Linked DNA regions of Homo sapiens: region 2 is linked to region 1. Evidence: promoter capture Hi-C in human tissues and cell types (Jung and others, 2019). All regions are on one chromosome and are shown on one strand. The core of a region is centred on a gene start or on the middle of the fragment in contact, and the rest is flanking DNA. Distances in the headings are between cores, read along the strand shown. Region 1 holds the start of LPCAT1 (lysophosphatidylcholine acyltransferase 1). Region 2 has its middle 74 kb from the start of LPCAT1.

Evidence for each region. Contacts are between HindIII fragments. The study calls those that stand out against the background at their distance.
Region 2: a fragment that was not itself captured here is called in contact with the fragment with the promoter of LPCAT1 in region 1 in 2 of the 25 tissues and cell types used here (bladder and mesenchymal stem cells).

Annotation. Positions count from the first base shown.
Region 1 is chr5:1,519,787-1,526,213 of GRCh38, reverse strand. It overlaps LPCAT1 (lysophosphatidylcholine acyltransferase 1), which reads left to right and starts at 2,254. Exons shown (of 14, transcript NM_024830.5): 1 at 2,254-2,504. The coding sequence starts at 2,370. RefSeq lists a cis regulatory region at 862-1,097, silencers at 1,867-2,266, 2,287-2,596, 2,867-3,066 and an enhancer at 4,227-4,731. The HindIII fragment of the contact is 8,437 bases long and covers 1-6,427 here.
Region 2 is chr5:1,595,266-1,599,896 of GRCh38, reverse strand. It overlaps the pseudogene PDCD6P1. Among named protein-coding and RNA genes, the nearest start is that of LPCAT1, 74 kb to the right of the region's middle. The HindIII fragment of the contact is 3,047 bases long and covers 1,449-4,495 here.

The DNA.
Region 1 (6,427 bases), core at 1,005-3,504:
CCCTCTGGGAGAGGGACTCCTCTTTCCACCGACCTTGGCTCAAGGACAACCTGCTGACCCTGCTTAGATTGCCGGGCAGTATGAGGTTCTTCCCCCAGCCTCCCCACCTCCTTCCCTGGGTTCCAACTCACTTTGCACTCTGCAGGTTAAAGCAGAAGGAATTTATTCTCTCCCAGTCTGGAGGCCAGAAGCCTGCGATCATGGCACCCTAGGCCTAGGCTCCCTCTGAGAGCACTAGAGAGGACCTGCTCCAGGCCTCTCCAGCTCCTGGGAACTGCTTGCCTGTAGCAGCAGAACCCTGGCCTTCCCATGGAGCTCTCTCTGTGTCTGTCTCTGAGACCGAATCTCCCTCTCTATAGGGACACAAGCCATTTCAGACTAGGGCCCACCCTAATGACTTCCTCTTAACCTGATCATCTGCAAAGACCCTGTTTCCAAATAAGGTCGCGGCCACAGGTGCTGTGGGTTAGGACTTTTGCATCTTCTGGGGACACAGCCATGACTCTCTGGCAGCTCTCCCCATTGAATCTGGCTCTGCACCATCTCCAGCAGGTTTCCCCTCCGCCACACACCGCTTCCTGGCCTGTGCTTCTGGGAGGACCCCACTTTCATGGCTCTCCAAGTCCAGTCCTGAGGCTGCTCTCATCCCAGGACTGGGACACCCTAGGGCCCCTCCTCTCCAGAGCACTCAGGCAGCAGGTGGGGCCGCCTGGATCGCTGGGGTGCAGGTGCTGCCCTGTGGCTGGCAGGCTTTGTGTCCTGGGCTTTCTTGATGATCAGTTCGGTGAGGAGCCTTGGGTGGCCTCGGGTGCTGGGCTCTGGTTTTGGGGATCAGAGCAAGTGGCCACTAAAAGCCCAGGAGGTGGGTGCAACGCTGGTGGCTGGGCCACAGAGCCACCAATGCCCACCAGCACACAGGGCTCACCCCATCCCCGTGGGTGTGGCACTTGGGACAGGTGCTGCTGCTAGGCATGGGCTGGGACTCTTATGGGGCAGGAATATGGGCTGGGACTCTTATGGGGCAGGAATAAGGCCATGCAGCGGGTCTGGCCTGCCGGGGCCTTCTCTGTGCATGATATGTGGATGGCACAGACCCCTGGCCCTCACCCCGGTCTCAGACACAGAAGGGTCTCTGCCAGCCCGCTGCACTATGAGGTCCACAAGGGCGCAGGCAGGGTCATTGGAGGGGTCGGGGCACTCCCTGGCGTCTGCTGAGGATGGGGCCCAGCTGGGGCCAACACAGCAGTGACATCCCCAGGAGCCAGGACCCTGGGGGGTTGGCCAGGTGGCCCAAACCGGCTCTGTCTGGGTGAGGTCCGTTGGCCATGAAGGAACCAACAGGGCCAGCCGGGGTGAGGAAGCCGTGAGCACTGTGACCGAAGGCCTGCGTGAGTTCTGAAATCCAAGCGTGTTCACCCGGAGGCAGGAGCCCATCCTACTCTCGCTCCGGCTAATTATGGGCCCCACCCTGGGGCTCCTCACACGGCTCCTGAGCACCACAAGGGCAATGCCCGAGCCAAAGCAGCTACGGGTGAGAAAGCGCTGGGATCTCATCGCAGCCCCTGCACAACCAGCACGGACAGTCAGGGCCCCTATGTGCGCCTCCTGCCTGGGCCATCCCTGCGGGGCCTGAGGCCTGAGAGGTCCTGAGATCGGAGGGGTCCTGAGGTCTGAGGGGGTCCTGAGGCTTGAGGGGTCCTGAGATCTGAGGGGATCCCGAGGTCTGGGGGGTCCTAAGGTCGAGTGGACCTCAGGCGGGAGTCGCCTGGGCTGAGGCGCGGCTGGAAGAAGCTCCCTCAGCCCGGGGCAGCTTCCAGGGTCGCCGGTGCGAGCTAGGAGCCCAACGAATAAGAAGAATGGCGTGGGGCCTTCGCCGGAACAGCCCGGGGCTCGGCACCCAGGGCCTGGCCCGCCTTGCGCGTAAGCTGGACGCGTGCCCGCCCCTTCCTCCCTCCCCGCGAGCAGGCGGGCCGAGCGGCGGAAGGGGACGACGTGGCAGCCTCGCGGGCCCGGGGGACCTCCCTTTCTCCTGGCGCAGACCCTGCCGGGGATCCCTGTGCTCCAGTGGCTGCAGGAGGCGCCCCCGGTCCCCAGCGGCCCCGGCCCCCCACAGACCCCAGAGAAACCACCAGGTAGCGGAACTCCGGCTGGTGCCGCCCCTGCCGGCCGGCGGGAGGCGAGGCTTCCAGGGACGCCCCGCCCCGGCCGGCGCTCCCGCTCCGCCCACGTCACCTCCCGCGCCTGCGCGCCCGGCCCGCTCCAGCCGCCGCGCATCCTCGGCCCGCGCCCCGAGACCCGCGCCCAGCTAGCCCCGGCCCCGCTCGGCGCCCCAGGCAGCTCGGCTGCGCTCGCCGCGGGACGGCGCGGCCATGAGGCTGCGGGGATGCGGACCCCGGGCCGCCCCTGCCTCCAGCGCAGGGGCCAGCGACGCTCGGCTGCTGGCGCCCCCGGGGCGGAACCCCTTCGTGCACGAGCTGCGCCTCAGCGCCCTGCAGAAGGCCCAGGTGGGTGCCCAGGGCGCGCGGCCCCGGGAGCCGGCGCGGACGCCAGGGATGCTGGGGCCAGGGAGGCGCGGCCGAGGAGGGGCCGGGGAGGGGGCCTGGGGCGCGGCGCGGCCCTGCGAGCCGCGGCGCCTTCCCTCCCCGCGGCCGCCCCTCAGTTCGCGTCCCCGCCGCCCGCACCCGATGCCTCGGTCTCGGCGCCGGCTTCCCGCCGCCCGCACGCGCATCCTGGTCCCTCAGCGCCTTCCTCGGGGTCCCCGCTTCCCATCCCCGCCCCGCGTTCTGCTCCTCCCCCCAGACCCCTGCACCCTGAACCGGGCCCACAACCCTTTCTCTGCCTCCCAGAGCCCCGACCTCGGCTCCCGCGGGAGGCTGGACCCGCATCGCCGGTCCCCGCGCTCGTCCCTGGTCCGGGCCCCGCCCGCCTTGGCAGGCCCTGCGCGCAGCCCGGGGACTCCGGAGCGGCTTTGCCTGGACGCGGCCCGCGGGCGGGAGGGCACCGCGGCTCTGGGTGAGCCTCGTGTGCGGGGCCTGGTGGTGCCCGGGACAGGGCGCGCGGGCGGTGCGGGTCCCCTGTAGGGTCCCCTGTAGGCGCACGGGTCTCCCTGCTCTGCGGCCGCACGTTGCCTTCTGGGGTGCATGCTTCGCTCCTGTTGTAAGGGATGCTTTCTCGGGGCTGGTCTGACCCGAATCAACTTTATGCAACCTGGGCTGCCACGTGGGAGGGAACGGTTTGCTGAGATCCTGCGATGGGACAGTGGTGAGGGGAGACCCGGGGGCGTCGTGGGGAGGGGGCCGCTCGCTGCAGGAAGCTGCACCGGGGATGTGCTGGCTCAGCCTGGCTTTTCCGGCTACCTGGCTGCCAGCTGGGCTTACAGTTACCTGAGATCCACTCTCAAGAGGACCTTACTTTTGACTCTAGAATAATTCCTAGAAGCAAGCACTGTTTCGGGGCCTATGGGGCTGTCCGGTTTGTAGGGAGCACGCTTCCAATTGTGAGAATAGATTTCCGGGAAGATGGAGATTTGTTAATGCATAAAGTACTTTATCTGAAAGAACCCTGAAGTGAAAAGTTCTTGAGGCCAGTTTGAGCTTGTCATTTTCCCAGGACGCCTGCTTTTGCTCAAAGCCCCTTGATGCGGCTGGTCCTCAGGGTATGGAAGGGGACGGGGAGCAGGAGAGCCCGATGGTGCCGCCCCTCCTGGTGACACACAGGGTGAGGTCGTCCCCAGCCTGGCTCCCAGGCCCTGGCCCCCGTCTCCCTGTGTGTCGGGAGCTGGACTCTGGGGCTGGGGCGGTGCCGGCCCCTCTGCCGCCGCTCTGCCTGGCCCTCTGTCTGCCACACGCTGTCAGCTGCCGTGTGCTGTGCCCCTCAAAGGAGGACTTGGGACACGGTCGCTCATTCTGTGCCCCTCAACCATTCCTCCTCTTCAATCCTCACCCCCACCCAGCCACCAGGCTCTCTCCCTGGTCACTCTCCCTGAGTCACTCCCAGCAGGCTTTCTTCCTCCTGCACTCTGCTGCTCGGAAGCCCTCAGCGGGGACGCCCCCGGATGAAATTCGAACCCCTGCTGTGGTTTCCAGGGCTTCCCCAGCCCTGCTCCTGCCCCAGCTATGGCTGCCTCAGGCATGCTCTCTCTTCCTGCCTTTCCTACTCCCTCCTGGCTCCCTGGGGGGAAACATCAAGCCCCTCCCTGGAGGTCCCCGGAGGCCACTTCGTCATCCCTGTCATAGTTGCAGCCCCCGGTTGAGGTGTGTTCTGTCCAAAAGTGTGCACCCACTGCCCTGGCGAGAAGCAGGGCAGAGACTCTCATGGGTAGGTACAGATGTCAGGGCACTGCCAGAGTGCCCAGAGGGGCCTGCTTTCCTCCCCGAGACCTCAGGGTGCAAGCTGCTCCCAGTGGCTCTTGGGCAGGGGGTCATCGAGAGGCTCCTGGTCCCGAGATTGAAGGCTTTGGGCAGCTGTTCTCCCTTGGGCCGAAGCCAGGCAGAGATCCTGGCTTGAGGTGTTGGGGCCTCTCAGAGAGGGGGCTTGCTTTGTTGCCACTTCAGAGGTTCCATCTGAGGAATTAGGTGTGTTTGTACATCCAGTCGTTTCTGCTGGATGTCTGCAATGTGTGGCTCAAGGGTTTAGTTTGTAAACGTTCTCAAAGTTCTCTGCAGAAACATTTTGCTTTTCACCAAGCATTGCTTTGCAAAGCTTTTACTTTGATGTGATATATTCTTGTAAAGTTTCCACAGAGTGAAATAGCCTGTCTTTCAAGCCAAGAAAGCCTTCTTCCCCAAAGAAAGAAATGGGTCCAGTAGTGGCTGACACACTCAAGAACCCGCAGAAACCCAGCTAAGTTCCCAGTTGAGATAAACCAGTGAGTACCTGCATTTACCTGTGAGCATTTGCCGCCTGGGAGGGGCTGCTGTGTGTCTTCGGATTAGCGCCATGCGGGGACACCTCCTCCTCCAGCCAGCCCATCTGTCATTTAACTACAGATTTAGTGAGGAGCTTAAGTATCTCTTTGGACAGAAAACAGCACATTAAGATCTGAAAAGAGGTATCAAAGCCATCAGGGTCTGTAATACGTGCAATGTTTTAATCCTCTGGCTAAAGCAAGGATATAGATTTAGTAGAGAGCGGTAAATGGTATGGTACAGGATCTTAGTGAGTTCAGCTGAGGTTCTTCATAGTCACACATTCATATATCGTTTTGGAGTCATGAAGTGGTTTCTGTCACCCAGGGTTTTCTCGGTACTTTCCTTGGAATCTGTGGGTATGAGTATTTCCCACTATGGTTCTGATGCGTTTTCCCCATTTCTTTTTTTTTTCTTTTTCTTTTTCTTTTTTTTTTTTTTTTTTTGAGACAGTCTCTCTCTGTCGCCCAGGCTGGAGTGCAGAGGTGCGATATCGGCTCACTACAAGCTCTGCTTCCCGGGTTCACGCCATTCTCCTGCCTCAGCCTCCCGAGTAGCTGGGACTACAGGCGCCCGCCACAATGCCCGGCTAATTTTTTTTTGTATTTTTAGTAGAGATGGGGTCTCACCGTGTTAGCCAGGATGGTCTCGATCTCCTGACCTTGTGATCCTCCCGCCTCGGCCTCCCAAAGTGCTGGGATTACAGGCGTGAACCACCGCGCCCGGCCCATTTTCCCCATTTCTAAAGTCTCTGCTGCTCGGAACCAGAGTTGGCAAGAACTTACATCCTGGAAAGCATAATGCCTTCCTGTGCACCTTGGAGCTGAGTCCTTGGACGGGCGTTGCTGTCTCAGAGTGGAGGAGGCTGCTGGGTGCCCGCCTGCCCACGCTGGCTAATCCACAGAGAGGATTATGATGAGGGTTGAGTCCAGGGACAGATTCTGCCCCTCCCTGCCTGGTGGCCCTGCATAGAATTTACCCAAAAGTGGGCCATCTTTTTCTCCACATTTTTATACAAATACCTGAGTTGTGATTTTTTAAAAAAACTCAGGAGCAGGACTCCGCCCTCTCAGCCTCGCTCCTGAGTCCAGCATGGCCACTGCAGAACAGGAATTCGTGTGCCTGCACACGTTGCCAGGCTCCTCACGTGGATGGCTGTGTTTGCAGTGTGTTCTTGACCCTTGGTGCCCTCCAGGCACACATGCACGGGGATGGGGGTTCCTCAGGCTTCTCTGAGCTGCTCCTGCTGCCCACTGGGTCCCTGGGTGCTGCCTGCCTGGATTCAGTAAGACTGGCTCTTCGCTCAGCCCCATTGCCGGGCAGTGGATGTGGAGGGGTGGGGTGGGCCAAGGAGCCCTGGGCAGTGTACCCGGTGGGAGCACAGGGCAGCCACACCCTGTGGAGGATGTGCAGGAGAGTGCCTGTCCCTTGGGGAGGATGGAGAAGGCCAGGGCTGTACAGGGCCTGCTGTCTCCCTGGATGCCTCAGAGGCCTTGGAGACGGTGCCAGGCCCATGGCCC
Region 2 (4,631 bases), core at 1,723-4,222, 73 kb before region 1:
CAAAACTAGCCTCTCATCAATCAATCAATAGCGCTTATCAAGTATTCATATGTCTGCCTCTTCTTCTAGACTACACTGAAGGCTGGTTACGCTCTTATGTGCAATAGAACCTCAAACACATCGTAACACACCTTTGGAGAATCCTTACAAGAACACCAAGTTAACAGTTATCTCTGACCACACTACCTCAGCAAAAAACCAGGAAGAAAAAATATTCTTCAACCCTTTTCAGGGACAGAAAGCATCATTTCAAAAGTCCAAGAAGGGAAGGTAAGAATTTCAGAAGTGAAAGTTATCATGAAAGGCTATAAAAGCTTGAGATGAGTCTGAAAAACAAATGGAAAATGAGTCACTTCAGGGCCTCTCCCAGCCTCAAAGCCAATTAATTATTACATTAGTCAGAGTAATTTTAAGCCTTCCAATCCACTCACCCTAGCCACAGGCAACAGTAGCCTCTCCAAGTGTTAAGGGTTTTTTTCCCAAGCCTGCAGGCGGATGAGCTTTTTACATGGCAGCCCCTTAGGATTGGATGTGGACCTGCCCTGTCTTTCACCAAGAAGCAAGCACTGCGCAGATCACTGAATCATAAAAACCACCTGCTCTTACCAGCCTCCTCTTCCTCTACAGCAAAACTTCTGACCTGAGACATCGAAGCAGATAAAAAGCCGCTACACAAAATGTATCGCTACAACTAGAGGGCAGTCTTGCCTTTCTTCCATTCAATTATTCAGTTTCTCATGTTCCTAAGTGCCAGCCCAGAACCATGGAATGTGAAGAAACACAAAACTCACTCCTCTGCATCAGTGAATTGATTGTGTGGTGGGGATGTAAGTCTGCATGTGACTGACAGTTCCCCAAAGTGGTGCCAAGTCAATCTAAACTAGAGAGAATTTCTGGCCAGGCCAAGCAGAGATTTCATGGATGAAGTCTCCCAAAGACTGATTTCCTAAACATTAAACATCACTGGTTTTCCAAAACTGGTTTTCTTTTTTTTTTTTTAACCCTGTTTCTCAGGCTGGAGGGCAAGTGGTGCCATCTCCACTCACTGCAGCCTCGACCTCCCAGGCTCCACTGATCTTCCCACCTCAGCCTCCTGAGTAGCTGGGACTACAGGTGTGCACCGCCACGACTCGCTAATTTTTGTATTTTTTGTAGAGACGGGGTTTTGCTGTGTTGCTCAGGCTGGTCACTCGATCTGCCCACCTGGGTCTCGCAGAGTGCTGGGGTTACAGGTATGAGCCACCACGCCCAGCCCACTGGTTTCCTTTACACCCGTTTTGTTCCCCAGCAGTCCTTATGAGGGCACCTGAAATAAGGAACCTCCTCCCCGACTTGAGAGCAGCAAAGCCTTCAGAGGGAACTAAGTTATTAAAACCCACCCCACACAAAATGCTTCTAAACGCCTTGGCTGACTTAATCCTTGCAGTGTGCTGAGGTTAAGTATGATTATCCATCTCCTGTGAACAGGAAGACTGAGGCTCAGAGCTTAAGTGATTTGCCCACGGTTCACTGCAGGGGATAAAACTCGGCTGTCCCTGGCAGGTCCCAAAGTCACGGCCTTCAGGCTCCCACACCATGCTGCCTCCCTCACCGGGGCTCCACACTCTCAGCCTGGAAAACACTAATTTTAAGAAAACCATGACTTACGAAAAGCAGCCAATCCCAGCATTGGAACCAACAGGGCATAATTCCACCTGCTTCCATCACCACCATCCGCCCTGGAATTAGGCCGGATATTCCAATTTGGGGGATCATTTAGGTTATTCATGGAGATATACCTTGAAGTAAAGAATAAAAACGTTAACTACTTTTATTCAAGAAATTTTTCTTCAGTTTTAACTATGTGCTTGCTGCACAGCACTGAGGCCCTACGGGATTCAAAGAAGAAAAAAACTAGACCAGAGCCGGGCATGGTGGCGGGCACCTGTAGTCCCAGCTACTCGGGAGGCTGAGGCAGGAGAATCGCTTGAACCTGGGAGGTGAAGGTTGCAGTGAGTCGAGGTCGCGCCACTGCACTCCAGCCTGGTGACAGAACGAGACTCCGTCTCAAAAAAAAAGAAAAAGAAAAAGGAAAAAAAAACAAGACCTTAGGTGAAAGCGACTCACAATCTGGTTGGGGAAAGTGGAGAAAACAGACATGTCTTAAGCATCTGAAGTGCAGGTAGAATCAGGTAAGTTCTCTGGTACAAATATATTTAAATGTATGGCTGCTGCGATGGTTAATTTTGTTTGTCAACTTGACGGCATCATGAGGTGCTCAGATACATGGTTAAGCATTATTTCTGGGCGTGTCTGTAAGGGTGTTTTTGGATGAGATTAGCAATTGAACCTTTAAACCAATTTCTTACGTCTCCCTTCTATTTGTTGTGTCTCTGGAGAACCCTCATACAGTTGTATCAAAGATACAGAATCAACTCAATAAAAGTGGGCTCACACCAGACACTTTCATATGAGCTAGGGTTTGAAGAGTGAGCAGCATTTTGACAGGCAGAGAAAGAAGGAAAGGGTCTTCTGATCAGAAGGAAGACTGTGAGGAAGGCAGGGAGGGGTGATGTGGGGAAGGTGCAAACAGTGCTAGAAGCTTCTGAGGCCTCCTCATGGTGGTGATGAATGCAGAGATTACAGAGCTCTCTGCTTCGGGCTCAGCATGCACCCTCCATAGCTAGGCTGGGGGCTAACGTTAGTAAGAATTTACTGATTTACTGAGTACCTACACGAAGTTTCACATTTTCACAAAGTAGAGTCACTTTAAGTTTATTTACATGTGACCTCCACAAATACACACAATTACAAAATAGTCAAGGGATGTATAATAAGCAAGAAATGCAATCCAATTTCTGAAAGCTTTTCATGGGATTTTCAACAAATACTTAATATCTAAAGATAGAAAATTATAAGCAATAAAGATATGACAAAAATATGTCTTGGAGCTTAATACTAAGGGGTTTGTGGTGTGGAGAAAAGCAAGAGAGATCAGATTGTTACTGTGTCTGTGTAGAAAGAAGTAGACATAGGAGACTCCATTTTGTTCTGTACTAAGAAAAATTCTTCTGCCTTGAGATTCTGTTAATCTATAACCTTACCCCCAACCCCGTGCTCTCTGAAACGTGTGCTGTGTCAACTCAGAGTTAAATGGATTAAGGGCGGTGCAAGATGTGCTTTGTTAAACAGATGCTTGAAGGCAGCACTCTCCTTAAGAGTCATCACCACTCCCTAATCTCAAGTACCCAGGGACACAAAAACTGCGGAAGGCCACAGGCACCTCTGCCTAGGAAAGCCAGGTATTGTCCAAGGTTTCTCCCCATGTGATAGTCTGAAATATGGCCTCGTGGGAAGGGAAAGACCTGACCGTCCCCCAGCCCGACACCCGTGAAGGGTCTGTGCTGAGGAGGATTAGTATAAGAGGAAGGCATGCCTCTTGCAGTTGAGACAAGAGGAAGGCATCTGTCTCCTGCCCGTCCCTGGGCAATGGAATGTCTCGGTATAAAACCCGATTGTATGCTCCATCTACTGAGATAGGGAAAAACCGCCTTAGGGCTGGAGGTGGGACCTGCGGGCAGCAATACTGCTTTGTAAAGCATTGAGATGTTTATGTGTATGCATATCTAAAAGCACAGCACTTAATCCTTTACATTGTCTATGATGCAAAGACCTTTGTTCACGTGTTTGTCTGCTGACCCTCTCCCCACTATTGTCTTGTGACCCTGACACATCCCGCTCTCGGAGAAACACCCACGAATGATCAATAAATACTAAGGGAACTCAGAGGCTGGCGGGATCCTCCATATGCTGAACGCTGGTTCCCCGGGTCCCCTTATTTCTTTCTCTATACTTTGTCTCTGTGTCTTTTTCTTTCCTAAGTCTCTCGTTCCACCTTACGAGAAACACCCACAGGTGTGGAGGGGCAACCCACCCCTACATGTGGTAATTATAGAATTAAAAAATTAAGGCCAGGCACGGTGGCTCACGCCTGCAATCACAGCACTTCGGGAGGCTGAGGCAGGTGGATCACCTGAGGTCAGGAGTTTGAAACCAGTCTGGCCAATATGGTGAAACCCTGTCTCTACTAAAAATACAAAAACTAGCTGGGCGTGGTGGCGGGGGCCTGTAGTCCCAGCTACTCGGGAGGCTGAGGCGAGAGAATCTCTTTGTTTTTTGAGGGGCAGTCTTGCTCTGTTGCCCAGGCTGGAGTGCAGTGGCTCGAACTCCGCTCACTGCAAGCTCCACAGGAGAATCTCTTGAACCCTGGAGGCAGAGGTTGCAGTGAGCTGAGATCGCGCCATTGCACTCCAACCTGGGCAACAACAGCAAAACTCTGTCTCAAACAAAACAAAACAAAATTAGGTAATTAACACAGGACTAAAACTGCATAACTTTCAAAAAAAAGTCTAGGAGCTATTACGTTCATTCCCTGCAAGCCAATAAAGGCCACGTCTGGGGCCTACAATCTAAGAAAATAATCCTAAAGTTATGGTCACAAATATGTTCTGTACAGTGTTATTTATTAAGAGCAAAAATGGGAAACAACCCAAATATCAATAAAATGGGACTGAACCCTTGCAAATTTACTAAAATAACTCAAAATTGTTAAACATGCACAAAACGAAGATTTTAATAATTTAAAGTGAAAA